Linked DNA regions of Homo sapiens: region 1 is linked to region 2. The links are contacts of gene promoters, found by promoter capture Hi-C in blood cells and fetal thymus (Javierre and others, 2016). All regions are on one chromosome and are shown on one strand. The core of a region is centred on a gene start or on the middle of the fragment in contact, and the rest is flanking DNA. Distances in the headings are between cores, read along the strand shown. Region 1 overlaps IPO13 (importin 13). Region 2 holds the start of KDM4A-AS1 (KDM4A antisense RNA 1).

Region 1 (6,270 bases), core at 1,833-4,332, 250 kb before region 2:
CAGGATGCCTATGGCTTCCTTTTCTCCTGGAGAAATCTGGGAGGGAGTTCTGGGAACAACGACTAAAGCAGTCCCTTATATTTGTAAAGAACTTTACAATATGCAAACTACCTTCACTTAAGACCACATCTACTATCCAGCACAGTTCTATGAATTGAGTAAGCCAGACATTTCAATGTTCATAGTTTTTAATGGGAAGCTGAGGCTTGCCCCAGATCAAGCAGCTTGTAAGTGGTCACCCCAAAACCTATGCCCAAGCTTACCACAGGACTTATCACACTGCTTTGTGACAATTTGAGCAACCTGAATTTCCTCTACACTGGGAGCAACTTGAAGGCCAGAACTATTACATGCGGAGGAGGTAATGAGCATCCTTAGTGCCCACAGGGGACAGTAAATGTTGAAGTAGAAGGCCCTACAGAGCTAGGGGTTGAACAGGGGCCCATAAAATCACTTAAGGGTTGAAGGATATAACGTCAATGTCCCTCATGGGGCTGAGGAATCTCAATGACATCACCCTAATTGGGCTGGGGACAAGGACAACATCACACACAGAGCTGAGTGAGATAATGACATTGCTGCCTACAGAGTGAGGCAATTATAGGTCATTCATGGAGTCAGAGGACCAAATATATCACGCCCACGGGGCAGGGAGAACAATGACAACATTACCCACAGAATTGAAGAGTGACAATGACATTCCCACAGGTGGGGGTTGGGGGGATGGCAAAGACAAATGTCTTTGCCGTGGGCAAATGTCACCCACGGGGTTGGGTCCCTGTGGCACTGGCAGCTTCCGAAGCTCAGGGCCTTCATGATCATCCTCATGATGACTGATGTCCAGTGTGGTGAAGAGGTTGGAGAGAAGCCCCAAGATGTGAACAATGGCCAGCTTGTTGGAGGGATTGGGCTGCAGGGAGAAGCAAACCAAGCTCCAGATCTCCCAGCCCCAGTTTGGTCCCCAGATCACTGAGCCTCAGCTCTGAGGGCCAGCTCCAACCTCACCCCTCATCAGCCACAGCATCTCAGTACCGCTCCCTGGCCCCCAGAGCTCACTCACTATCTCCTCTGCCAGCTTCTCCAGTTGCTGGATATAGGGTGAGATAAGCGAGTGCAGGTTCTTAAGGATCTCCTCCACTTGAAGAGCTGACAGCAGGAAGCCCAGCGCCTGCATCAGCCACATGCACTGGCTTGTCTGTGGGGCAGAACATGGATGGTCAGTCCTGGCCACATCTAGTTGTGGGGTAGGAAGGAAAATGAGCCTCTTGGGAGAAGAAAAACAGAGAATAAGGGATAAGAGGAAGGGGAAGGCCAAAAAACAGGATTTCAGGGATAAGTGATTCCCACAAGACCTCCAAGGAGACCCCTAGAAACTTTTGAGCCGCACCTTGTGGATCTGTTTCATCAGCACATCCTGAGGGGAGAAAGAAGGAATGTAGTATCAGCACAGTGCAGAGTGTGCTCTGAGGCCCAGCACCATCCAGGGCCCCTGCATACCTGGGACACAGCCACAATGTTGGCAGCATAGGGAGGCAGGTCATACTTGCACTCTCGGCAGATCTTCTTGAGGGTGGACACAGAAGAGACAGACAGCTCAGGATTGCCTAGGGCATGCAGTACCAAGGGCAGAACACTGTTGATCATGACGGGGTGGTCAGCCAGCCATTCAGACAGAGCTCCTGGAGGAAGGAGGGAGACAGGAGGATCTTTGAGGCAGGCCAGGCTGGCTTTGTACCATGTCTCTGAGGCAAGCAGAGTTCCTGGCAGGGTCAAGTTGCAGCCCCAGCACAGAGTACTGCCCCATTCAGAGGACATATGCATGTGCATGCTCAAACATGAGCCTTACAGCTGAGAAGCAGGAAGGGGTTACTCAACAGAGGCCCAGTACTGCTGTTTCACTGACGGTAAACTAGCCTCACTGAATTGCAGCTCAGTGTGCCATCAGATGGACCCCCTAGACCTGCCAGGACAGTCAGTTTGTTACAACACTGATTGTGTGTAGGCATGTGGCTCTCCCATTCTGGATAGGATCCAGCATGCTGGCTGTGGCCAGGGTTGGGTGCTGTGGCTCTGGGAATATGGTCATGGGTGTGTGCCAGGTCTCACCAATGGTGAACATGACAGTGTCTGCCAGCTGCACGTTGCTGATGCTGATCCGTGGGATGAGGCCAATGAGCCCAGGCACCACATCAGAATAGTTGACGTCAATGGTCTCTGCGATGGATTGGAAGCCGTAGAGGAGGGCCTCTGTGTGCTGGGGAAAGAGGGTGCCACTGGCTTGGATGAGGAGGAGGGTGTGACAGGTCTGGGAAGGCTGAGGGAATCAGGCTTGGGAGGTACCTGCCAGGAGTAGGGCTCCTCTGAGCTGGTGAGCAAACGACCCAGCTTGTCATAGAGGTTGCTGAGCAGCTCGGCCCCCAACATCTCATAGACATACATGAGCGTGTCTGAGATGTCCACCCTGAGAAGCAGATGAAGGCCTTTTATACTGCCTGGATCCTGACCCTGGATCCTGCCCCCAAGCCCAGGAGCCTACCCCAGTACCCCCACAACTCTGCAACAATACCTAGAAAACAGAAAGGAGCACCAAAATTCAGAAAGCCTGGACTTGGGCCCCTTCCCTCATTGCCTTCATTATTTCTGGACTCCATTTTAGAGGAGTTGGCCTGCTACCATCACCTGTAAATTCGGAACTGCTCCTTCTCGTCTGAGGACCAGAATCCATATTCCTCATCAGAAGGGAACTGGGCCTTGTGCAGAAGCACATCCACCAGCTGGAAGTAGACTGGCCGGTACACCTGCTGGTATACAGCCTGCTTCTCTGCCTCAAAGGATAGAATATCATCCTGAGAGAGCCAGGGAAGAGAATTAGCCACCTCACCAGCAGTCATAGAAGCCCATGATCCACCTTCTTCCACCACAGCCCAGTCCTACTGGAGGTCACACAGACACACCTGCAGTGTGTACCAGAAGGTGAGGGTTAGGGAGCTGGTGGTCTCATTGACAGGATAGTGGCCAGGGATGCCTGTGCAGAACATAATCATGTTGACGAGTGCCAGGAAACTCTGCCAGTGCTCTACTTGGTCCAGCAAGGCCCTGGGGAGAGAGTCAGGTCATTCTACCTTTCCAGGGACTTCCAGAACCCCATTTCTTAGAGGGCCCTACTATCCCACCCCAAGCTGCTCCACCCTTTACCGGGAGTGGTTCTCGCCCAGGGCCACAGCGATGCGACAGATGCCATGGGAGGTCTCCATGTCCCCATTCTGCACTGCCTGCCGCAGTTGTTCCTGCAGACCCAGCACCAGCGGGATGAGTTTCAGGAGTGTGTTCACGTACCTAGAGGCATGAGGTGAGAAAATCCATCAGAGCTCTCTGCTCAACCCCACACTGGCTTTAAGAGAAAGGCATAATCTCCTTGTCTTCCATCAAAGCTCCCCTTCCCTTATCAAATCCTAAGCAAAAAAAGGGTCAGGGTCTACATGGCAGATTTGATGTTCCCAATGTTGGGAAGAACCTTAGATCAGGGACCCCCAGAAGAACTCTGAGAAGGACGTATGAGAAGGTCAGCATTATGGGTTGAATTGTGTTCTCCAGTTGGACTGAGAGCTGATTCCGGAATGGGTTAAGATTTTTTTTTTTTTTTTTTTTTTGAGATGGGGTTTTGCTGTGTTACCCAGGCTGGTCTCGAACTCCTGAGCTCAAGAGACTCAGCCTCCTGCTCAGCCTCCAGAGTAGCTGGGATTACAGGTGGAGCCACCACATCCAGCTAGGTTACAACTTTTGGGGAGATTGAGATGAAGTGAATATATTTTGCATGTGGGGATAACATGAAGTTTGGGGCACCAGAGGGCAGACTGTCATGGGTCAAATTAAGTCCCCACAAAAAGATACATTTTTTGATAAATCTTAATCCCCAGTACCTCAAAATGTGATCTTATTTGGAAATAAGATAATTGCAGATGAGGTTATACTGGAGTAGGATGGACCTGAACTCCAATATGACTGGTGTCCTTATAAGAAGATATCTATGTGAAGACAGAGACATACAGGGAGAATGCCACGTGAGGATGAAAGTAGAGAGTGGAGTGATCCAGCTGGAAGCCAGGGAACACTGAAGACCGCCAGCAAACCACAGAGCTAGGAAGAGGCAAGGACGGAGTCTCCTACAGGTTTCAGAGGGAGCACAGCCTTGCCAACACCTTGATTTCAGACTTCTATCCTTCACAATTGTGAGACAGTTAATTTCTGTTTGGCTTTAAAGCCACCTAGTTTGTGGTACTATGTTATGGTAGCCCTAGGAAACTAATACAGTCTGTCAGGGGTGATTGAACAAGAGTGGGATACAGAAGAGTAAACACAGGCTCATAAGCCCTGATTTAAAAAAAAAAAAAAGACTTTGGAAGGCAGCAACAGCTCATGAGAGCATCAATCCCTGCCATCCGCTCCACCCTCTACCACCAAATCCCAACTCTTGAGGAGTGTGGTGGCAGCAGGGAGGAAGAGAAGTAGACAATGAACTCAGAGAGAGCTAAGAGGCAAAACAGACAGGACTTGATGACTGACTGGATATGAGGAAGGAGAAGAATAAAGACACCTCTCAGGTCACTGGCTAAACAACTAAGTAGACGGTGGAGCTATTTACTGAGACCTGTGGGGTGAGTAGCGGGGAACAGTAACACCTTTAATGGGAGGTGGAAGGTGATAAGCTCAGTCTTAGACAAGTTGATTCAGAGACACCTGATAGGTTATGCAGGCAGAAGCATCTAGAAAGAGTTGGATATAAAAGCCTGAAGCCCAGCATAGAGGTTAGAGCAAAAGCCATAGATTTGAGAGTCATCAGCTAACAGCTGGTAATTGAAGTTATGGGAATAGATGAGAATTGCCCAAGGAGAAAGTGTTGAATGAGAAAAAAATAAGAGGGTCCAGATCACAGCCCTGAAACACAATGATCTCTAAAGGAGAAGGACAGACAGCCCAGTATACAAAGGGGACTGAGAGAAGCCTGGCTCAGCCCACTGGATCCCTCTCCAGCACCTTGGTCTGTGGAGATGAGACTAAGCAGAGGAAGCCACACTCTAATAGCGGGGATCAGATGCTTGGGACCCCTCTGTTGTCAATCATAGTGTCACCATAGCAATCTATGTTAGGGAGTTGGGGACTGAGGATCCCAGAGGGAGTTCTATCTGGACTTGCCCCAAGCAGGTTGCTAGGCAGTAGCCTCATATCCTTGGTGGGAGGATGAGAAGGACAAAAAGAGGCAACCAGCCTAGGGACATCGGCCTCCTTCTCCACATCCCCATTCTGGTAGGAAAAGTCACCCATGCCAGGATATCCCCAGCCCAGAGACAGCCCCAGGGGGTGCTGCCTGGAGACAGCCGGGATAGCTTCAGTCTCCTGACCCTGACACGGGCTGCACCACCAGACAATGGGCATTTTCAGGCCAGACTCTGGCACAAAGAGAAGGGGCAGGGCCAAGGCTATGGCCCACAAGCTCCTCAGCAGCTGAGATGGGTGCAGGAGGTAGCGCTCTACTCCCATAGCTCCCCACTGTATTCTAAGACTCCTTCCTCCACCTGCCAAAGTTCATGCAGATGGCAGGGTACTCGGCAAATGTTCTTCATTTGTCTCATCTGAGCCTCAAAATAGGACAAATCAAGGATAATACAGCCTCAAAGAGCTCAGAGTATCATATCACTCAAGGTCATACAACAACTTAGAAGCAGAATCCAGGTTGAAACTGCCCCTTAAACTGCTACAGGTCTGCTTTTCTTTCAGGGCCCAACCAGAATTTCCCCAAAGGATTTATGTACGTCTCAGCCCATATCTCCAGTCCTAACTGATGGGAGCCCCCAAGAGCCTGCCTAATTCACTTTCCCTCCATCCCCAACTCCCAAGGACAAGCTTTTCCAGCATTAAAAACATAGTTCAGGAAAAAAAAATACATTTCAAAGGAGAGAGCCAGGAAGCAGCAGCAGCTGTGGAGGGGCAGGAAAAGGGTGACTTGAGTGCAAGCTCAGCCAAGGGGAGGGCCAATGTCAGGACACCTGGGGAAGGCGTGCCTGGATGACCCAGGAGTCAAAGTCACTGAAGGTGACTTTCACAAGCCAAAGCTGGGAAATTAGACTGGGGAGAGCAAGGGCCAGGCTCGGATTCTGGGCTGGATGCAGCTCACCCATGGGAAGAAGTTCTTGCATAAATTTCCTACCACCTGAGCACCTGTGTCTGCGACCTGTGAGTGGACAGAAGAACAAGTCTGAGGTCCCAGAGGTT
Region 2 (5,783 bases), core at 765-3,264:
TTCCTGATAGTTAGCTACAGCTTCCTTTGAAGTAAATTCTATTACTTGTTTACTCTTTGCACCACACAGGACAAAGGTACCTCTTGGATTAATGCCATCAACCTACCTTTTGTGCAACCTCATATCCTGCTTTTTCTGCTAAGAAACCCCCTGGAACCACCCATGAGCATCTCAGGTTCCCCTGCACCTTTGTCATCCTCACTTTCTCATCTGCTCACTTCTTCCCCTTCATACAGCCGGCTACCCACTCTTCATGACCCAATTCAAGCCTCAGCTTCCCTGTGAAACCTTCCTCAAACACATGGATTTCTCCTTTTCTCGGTTTCTCAGAGTACCTACCATCTTGGAATTCTAGAGACCATATCACAGTTATCATTGTCATGTGTGTGCTTTATTCCCTCAAGTATATTATAGGCCCATTAGAGCAAGTTTCTTATCTTAAATGGTTTTGAGTTTCCCCTCAGTCAATGCCTTGCATAAAATATGTACTCAAGAGGCGTTCCATTGATTGATACAAAGTCTGTTAGTCTCTGAGAACATGAATGTCTTGTTTCATCGTTAACATTTTATTTTTATTAAACCATGGTTAGACAGTTAGACACGCGAAATGGAGAGATTCACCACTTAATATCTCAAAATATCCTTAAGAATCTCTAATCATAGGAGGAGCTGTATTGCCTTAAGAGATTATTTGAAAGTATCATTTGGCTATAAATTTCTGTGCCAGCTTCCTTTTAATCCTCTGTTGACTTGAAAGTACACCAAACATTTCAGTGATCATCTCTACAAGATAATTCTGCCTTAGAAACAACCTAATTTGTCATGGGGACTATCTTACTTTTAGTAACCTAATAAGAGTTTTTTCCTACCTTAATGTCCAGCTATCTATAATTCACAGTACATCCACTGAAAAGTTTGAGTATTTTACTTTCTGAGGTAATAGCCGCCTTCACTGGTCCTTCCCTCAATTAATTACATTCAGTTATCAGGTTTCACTCCTTCCTCATACGTGAAGGAAACATAAATGAGGCTTACTGAGGAATCATAAAAATGGACATTGTTGTAAAAAGGAATCCAAAATGTTCATGGGACACTCTCCTAACCAAACCTGCCCTCCTCACTAAGATATTTTCTCTTGCAAGCAAAAGCACCGAGGACACAACGGGGGAAAGTGCCAGAAGGAAAGGAAGCAAGAGAGGCGTACTTTGCCGATCAAACTGACCCCAGTTCTGGCCCCCGCTAGAGCAGTAAGCAATGACAACCGCTACCCAAACGCTGCCGATTCCCGCTCAGGCGCTCCCTGGACTTTTCTTTCCTTTTCCCACAGCAGGGCCCGAATGACGGTGTCCGTGCTCTGCGCCAAGGTGCGCAGCGCTGCGGGGTTTCACACGGAGATGATCTCAGACCTCCTGGCCTGCGTCCGGCCGGCCTTTCCCCCAGGCTCGGCGGCCCCCACCCAGGAGAGGTCATCCAGGTACTGGGCCCCCAGCCCGAAGGACGACTGGGCCGTGCCCCGACCCCGCCTTCCCGGGCACTAGCGCGCGGGCTCCGCGCCCCGCCCAGCCCGGGACCCGCGGCCGGCGGGGGAGGGGCGGGGCGGAGCGGCGACCGTTATTCGCGGTCAGCCATCGCGCCCCGAAGCGCACTGGGCAGGCCCTTACCACAGCGGAGAGGGAGGCAGGGGGGAGGTGGCGCCCGGCCCGACGCGGGGCAGGAAGGCGGAGGCAGCGGCGTAGGCGGCGGCGACAGCCGCGGGGGACCCCGGCGGGAGCCCACAACGCGCTGGGCTGCATGGGCGCCGCCATAGTGGGGACGCAGCGGCGGGCGGAGCGCGCGGCCGCGACCCGGTCGGGCGCCTGCGACCAATGGGCTCGCGGAAGCCGGGCGGAGCGAGGGCCTGGCCAATGCGGAGCTGCGCTGCCCCGAGCAGCCCAATAGACGCAGGAGCCGCGGATTTGCCGTCCCGCCCACCCCGCCTACCACGAGAGCAGTGCTGCGGCGAGTGCGGGGCGAGAGGTTCGCGCTGGTGGAGCACCCCAGCTTGCAGGTTCAGCGTGGGTGTCTCTCCCGGGCACATCGAGCTGTCTAGAGGAACCCTCTTCCCCTGGCTTCACGGCCCAGAGGACGCACGGCTCTCTCCCCTCGAGAGCGTGTTTCGTCGCCCGCGCGGGGAACGCAAAGTGCTAGGGTAGTCACGGCCACTTCACGCCGAGGGACATCTCATCTCGCCCTCCAGGTCGTGAGCGCACCCATTCCGCTCACTGAGGCCGAAAGCTTCGGACCTCCGTGGGCCCTGGTGGGTAAGGGGGCACGGGGGTGAGCGTTAAGAGACTCGTAGAACATTTTTAGTCCGCGCGTGGCACAAGGCCTCCAAGCCCCACGTACACTTTGCAGCCCTCCCACTCCTTTTTCATTCCTGCGGCTGAGCCCTGGTGTTATCCGCCTGGGGCGGAATTTAAAACTTAATTCCTCAACAAAGTCGGGGTGGTCTTTAAACTGCAACCTTGGATCCAAAGGCCCTACCTTACAAAGGGAAGGCAGTTTGCCCTACAAAAAGGCTTCTGGGAGGAGCTGCCTAAGGCAGGAAGGGACTGGCAGGCCGGGAGGTGCCGCTTTTGGCTGGGGCCAGTTCTCTTGAGGTCGACCCGACTGCATAGGCAGCCAGTAGGGGAGAGAACGGGCCGGTCTGTGTGATTTGGATCACCTGAGTTGCAGTTTCCTAAGAGTTATTAGGTTGACCAAAAAAAAAAAGTGCAGTTTCTGGAAAACTGGTCAGCTGTTGAGTAAAAACTGCTGGGATTAAACCCAGCGCCCACCCCTGGAGGCAGTGGGGTCATCGAGAAAGGTAGGGATCCTGTGTAAAAAGGCTGGTGAAGTGTTCCTCTCTTCCAAAGATGTATGGATTAGTGTTCTCTCACCAATCCACTAAGGCCTGGTTCTGCCCAGCCTCCCTTGCTACATCCCCTGGGAATCCCCAAGTGGAGTGTGGGCAAAGAAAAAAAAAGGCCAACTTCCCTCCCTGGGCCCCAGGAGGGAGCTGACATAGAAAAGATCACCTCCTGCACCTCCCTTTCTCCACAATGAGATACCAAGTAGCAACCACCTCTCAACCCCCAGGGACACAAGGAAGCATCCAGAGCAGCTGAACTGACCTAAGCCTCTCCTGCACCTGGACAGGGCCATGCCACAGGAAGTGCCTGGCTGTTTAAGGGCCAGCCGGTGCAGCTCCGGGGCACCCAAGTCCTGCACCTATTCATTGCCCCCCTCCCTGCTCTGTGGTTCCCCATCCTTGTCCACTTTGACCTCAGGGATCTACCAGCCAAAGGAGATTGGGTCTTCCTCCAGGGAAGCTTCTCACCAACTAGACAGCTCGGAGAGCAATCTGAGGATCCCACTGGAGGTTGAGTCCCTTGCTTTTCAAGCACCTAAAATGCACCCATCCTTCCCACTGGTTCCACAATTTGTATAGAGCACAGATGCTGGCATGAACTTAGGCCAGTTCAACAAAGATGTATCAAATGGGGCAGCAGTGAGAGATACTCTGTTGAGAGGACTCATTGGTCTGGTGCTTCCTCTGTTACCTCATCTTGCCCGTCTCTAAGGCAGAGCAAGCACAACAAAGAGGTGCTCAGAGCCAGAAGTGTCCCTGCTCCCATGACCCACCATACTTGGCCTAATACAGAGCTTGACAAGCAAAGGACCCACTCTCTGGAACTTCCTAGGGAATGCCTTACTGATTTGTCTTAAAATACACAGCCCCGCTCCAGAGCCTATGACTCTAGATACACCCCCCAGCCTGACGTGGGCCACGTGGGCTCCTTGGGGCAGACAGCCAATCCTCTGCTCAACACATTTTATTGCTAAGGACAAGGTGATGCACCAGTTTTCAAAATAATTTGGTTTATAGTGTTCATACGTAACAAAAAAGGGGAAGTATTATAAATCTGATTCTTGTATACACAGGGTATTGGTGTGAAGCCCTCCAATCCTGGGCCCAGGCAAACAAATTCTTGAGGAGCAAAAACCTGTTTAACCCCTTCAGTATTGCCCTCTAGTCCCACCCCCCACCCCAAAATCAGCTCCCTCCCACCTACAGTGGGCCTCCAATGGCCCCAGTTTTTTCATCCTAACCCTCCCAGCCCCTGCATGATTGCAATTTTCTGTTGACAGAATCACCCACCAGGCTCTGCCTGCTTCCATCATTAAAATCCCCGATTCAGGGTAATCCCCACCCACACCCTGTAATACTTTGCCACAGGGGCTCTGCACCTAGAGTGTTGTGGGCACACACCCATGTTATCCCCATGTTCTCCTTTAGGGGAAGACAAAGAGGTGGCATCAGCTCCTTAGCATCTCAATACTGCAGCTTTGCCAGCACTGTCTTGAGACGGTTCCAGGCCTGGACAGATGCCACACCCATCTCCAGCCAACCCCCAGGAGCCCTTACTCAGCTCAGCTGAGGGCAGAATTTCACATTTTGTTTGCCCTGCATAGGCAAGGAAGAAAGTAAAGGCCAGGGGCTGGCAGAAGCTGGTCCAGACCAAACATACACGCACGCACGCACGCACGCACACACACACACACATATAAATACAAAAGTAGGGGTTGGGGCAAGTACCAGCACCTCAGCCTAGTCGGTGCAGGTGATAGTTATGAAGCTAAGTCCTAGGCCAGGAACAAGGCAGCCAGTCCAGCCAGCATAGTTGACCCCTCTATGGACTGGGGCCAGTGCAGCCACAGCATTCCAGTGCTCAGCCCCTCAGCTGGGAGATCAGCGACTGCTGCCACGTGCCCAGAAATGGCTCGTCCTTTCACTACAGCGGAATGCAATGAGGGTGGGTGAGAAGATGATGGGTCGGTTATTTCATTCCTTTTCTTTTTACAACTTCACTTTCAGAGACTTCAGCGTTCCATGTCTGCTGTGCTGTGGAACCCAGAGTGCTCTTGCCTGGATGGCTGAGAATCCCTTGGACCCTGGAAGCACCTACTCCATGATGGCCCGGTATAGTGCAGGCTCAATATAATCTTCCCGGTATCTTGAGTTGATAACTCGTTGCCGTTTCTTTTCTTGCTTAACCTCTTTCTCTGTGAAAATCTCATTGAAGCGCATGTCTGAGGCTACTGACTATAGAAGAATAAGCAAGCCAAGTGTCAGCTACCCCAGGAACAATACAAAGGGATGCATCCTTGACTTGTTCCCTCCCTCCAAGACAGGAACTGGGGGGACACAGAAAATACTCACCAGTCTAGATTTGACTCTCTTGGGAAGCTCTTCATCCAGTGTGTATACATCATCTCTCTTAACCACAAGTTGTGAGCCATCCTCAAACTCCACCTACCAAGGAAACAAAGGCCTTTTGGCTAGGATATCCCTGACTCTTTCCCTGGTCCACCATGCACAGTGGCAGTCCCCTACAGTCAAAGGAAGGAGTTAGAACACTAAAATAACAACTACCTTACTTCACATTTGGCAGACTGGAAACAGGGCAGACCCCTAGCTCTGAAAGGGTTACCAACCTATTAGTTCTCCTAAGAGCAAAGACTCGCCTCTGGCCCAACAGGAAGCACAGAATTAATCAAGCACCCCCCACTCCCTAGAAAGGTAGAACTTTGGATACCTGGTACATTTGGATAGGGTGGGAGGCCACAAACTTGGCTCCATAGACTTGGCCGTCTGTCCATCTCACTTGGACCACTTCCCCTTCAGCAGGAGGACCAAACTGGAGACAGTCCTGGCTCTGAGGAAACAGGAAGGAAGGAGGGTGAAAGGAACGTCCACCTGC

Evidence for each region. Contacts are between HindIII fragments. The CHiCAGO score rates a contact against its expected background, and 5 or more counts as called.
Region 1: a fragment that was not itself captured here is called in contact with the fragment with the promoter of KDM4A-AS1 in region 2 in 7 of 17 cell types (endothelial precursors, monocytes, M1 macrophages and 4 more); the score reaches 9.7 in endothelial precursors.

The regions. Positions count from the first base shown.
Region 1 is chr1:43,953,386-43,959,655 of GRCh38, reverse strand. It overlaps IPO13 (importin 13), which reads right to left. Exons shown (of 20, transcript NM_014652.4): 3 at 3,196-3,336; 4 at 2,955-3,096; 5 at 2,680-2,846; 6 at 2,341-2,461; 7 at 2,107-2,254; 8 at 1,498-1,679; 9 at 1,388-1,414; 10 at 1,061-1,195; 11 at 767-910. Among named protein-coding and RNA genes, the nearest start is that of IPO13, 9.6 kb to the right of the region's middle. The HindIII fragment of the contact is 5,643 bases long and covers 261-5,903 here.
Region 2 is chr1:43,703,572-43,709,354 of GRCh38, reverse strand. KDM4A-AS1 (KDM4A antisense RNA 1) reads left to right here and starts at 2,014. Exons shown (of 5, transcript NR_033827.1): 1 at 2,014-2,296; 2 at 4,898-5,002; 3 at 5,708-5,783. It overlaps ST3GAL3 (ST3 beta-galactoside alpha-2,3-sialyltransferase 3), which reads right to left and starts at 1,819. Exons shown (of 12, transcript NM_006279.5): 1 at 1,662-1,819. It overlaps KDM4A (lysine demethylase 4A), which reads right to left. Exons shown (of 22, transcript NM_014663.3): 20 at 5,619-5,738; 21 at 5,243-5,335; 22 at 3,837-5,125. The coding sequence ends at 4,985. RefSeq lists silencers at 1,352-1,401, 1,432-1,931 and enhancers at 2,062-2,141, 1,867-2,384. The HindIII fragment of the contact is 3,706 bases long and covers 1-2,276 here.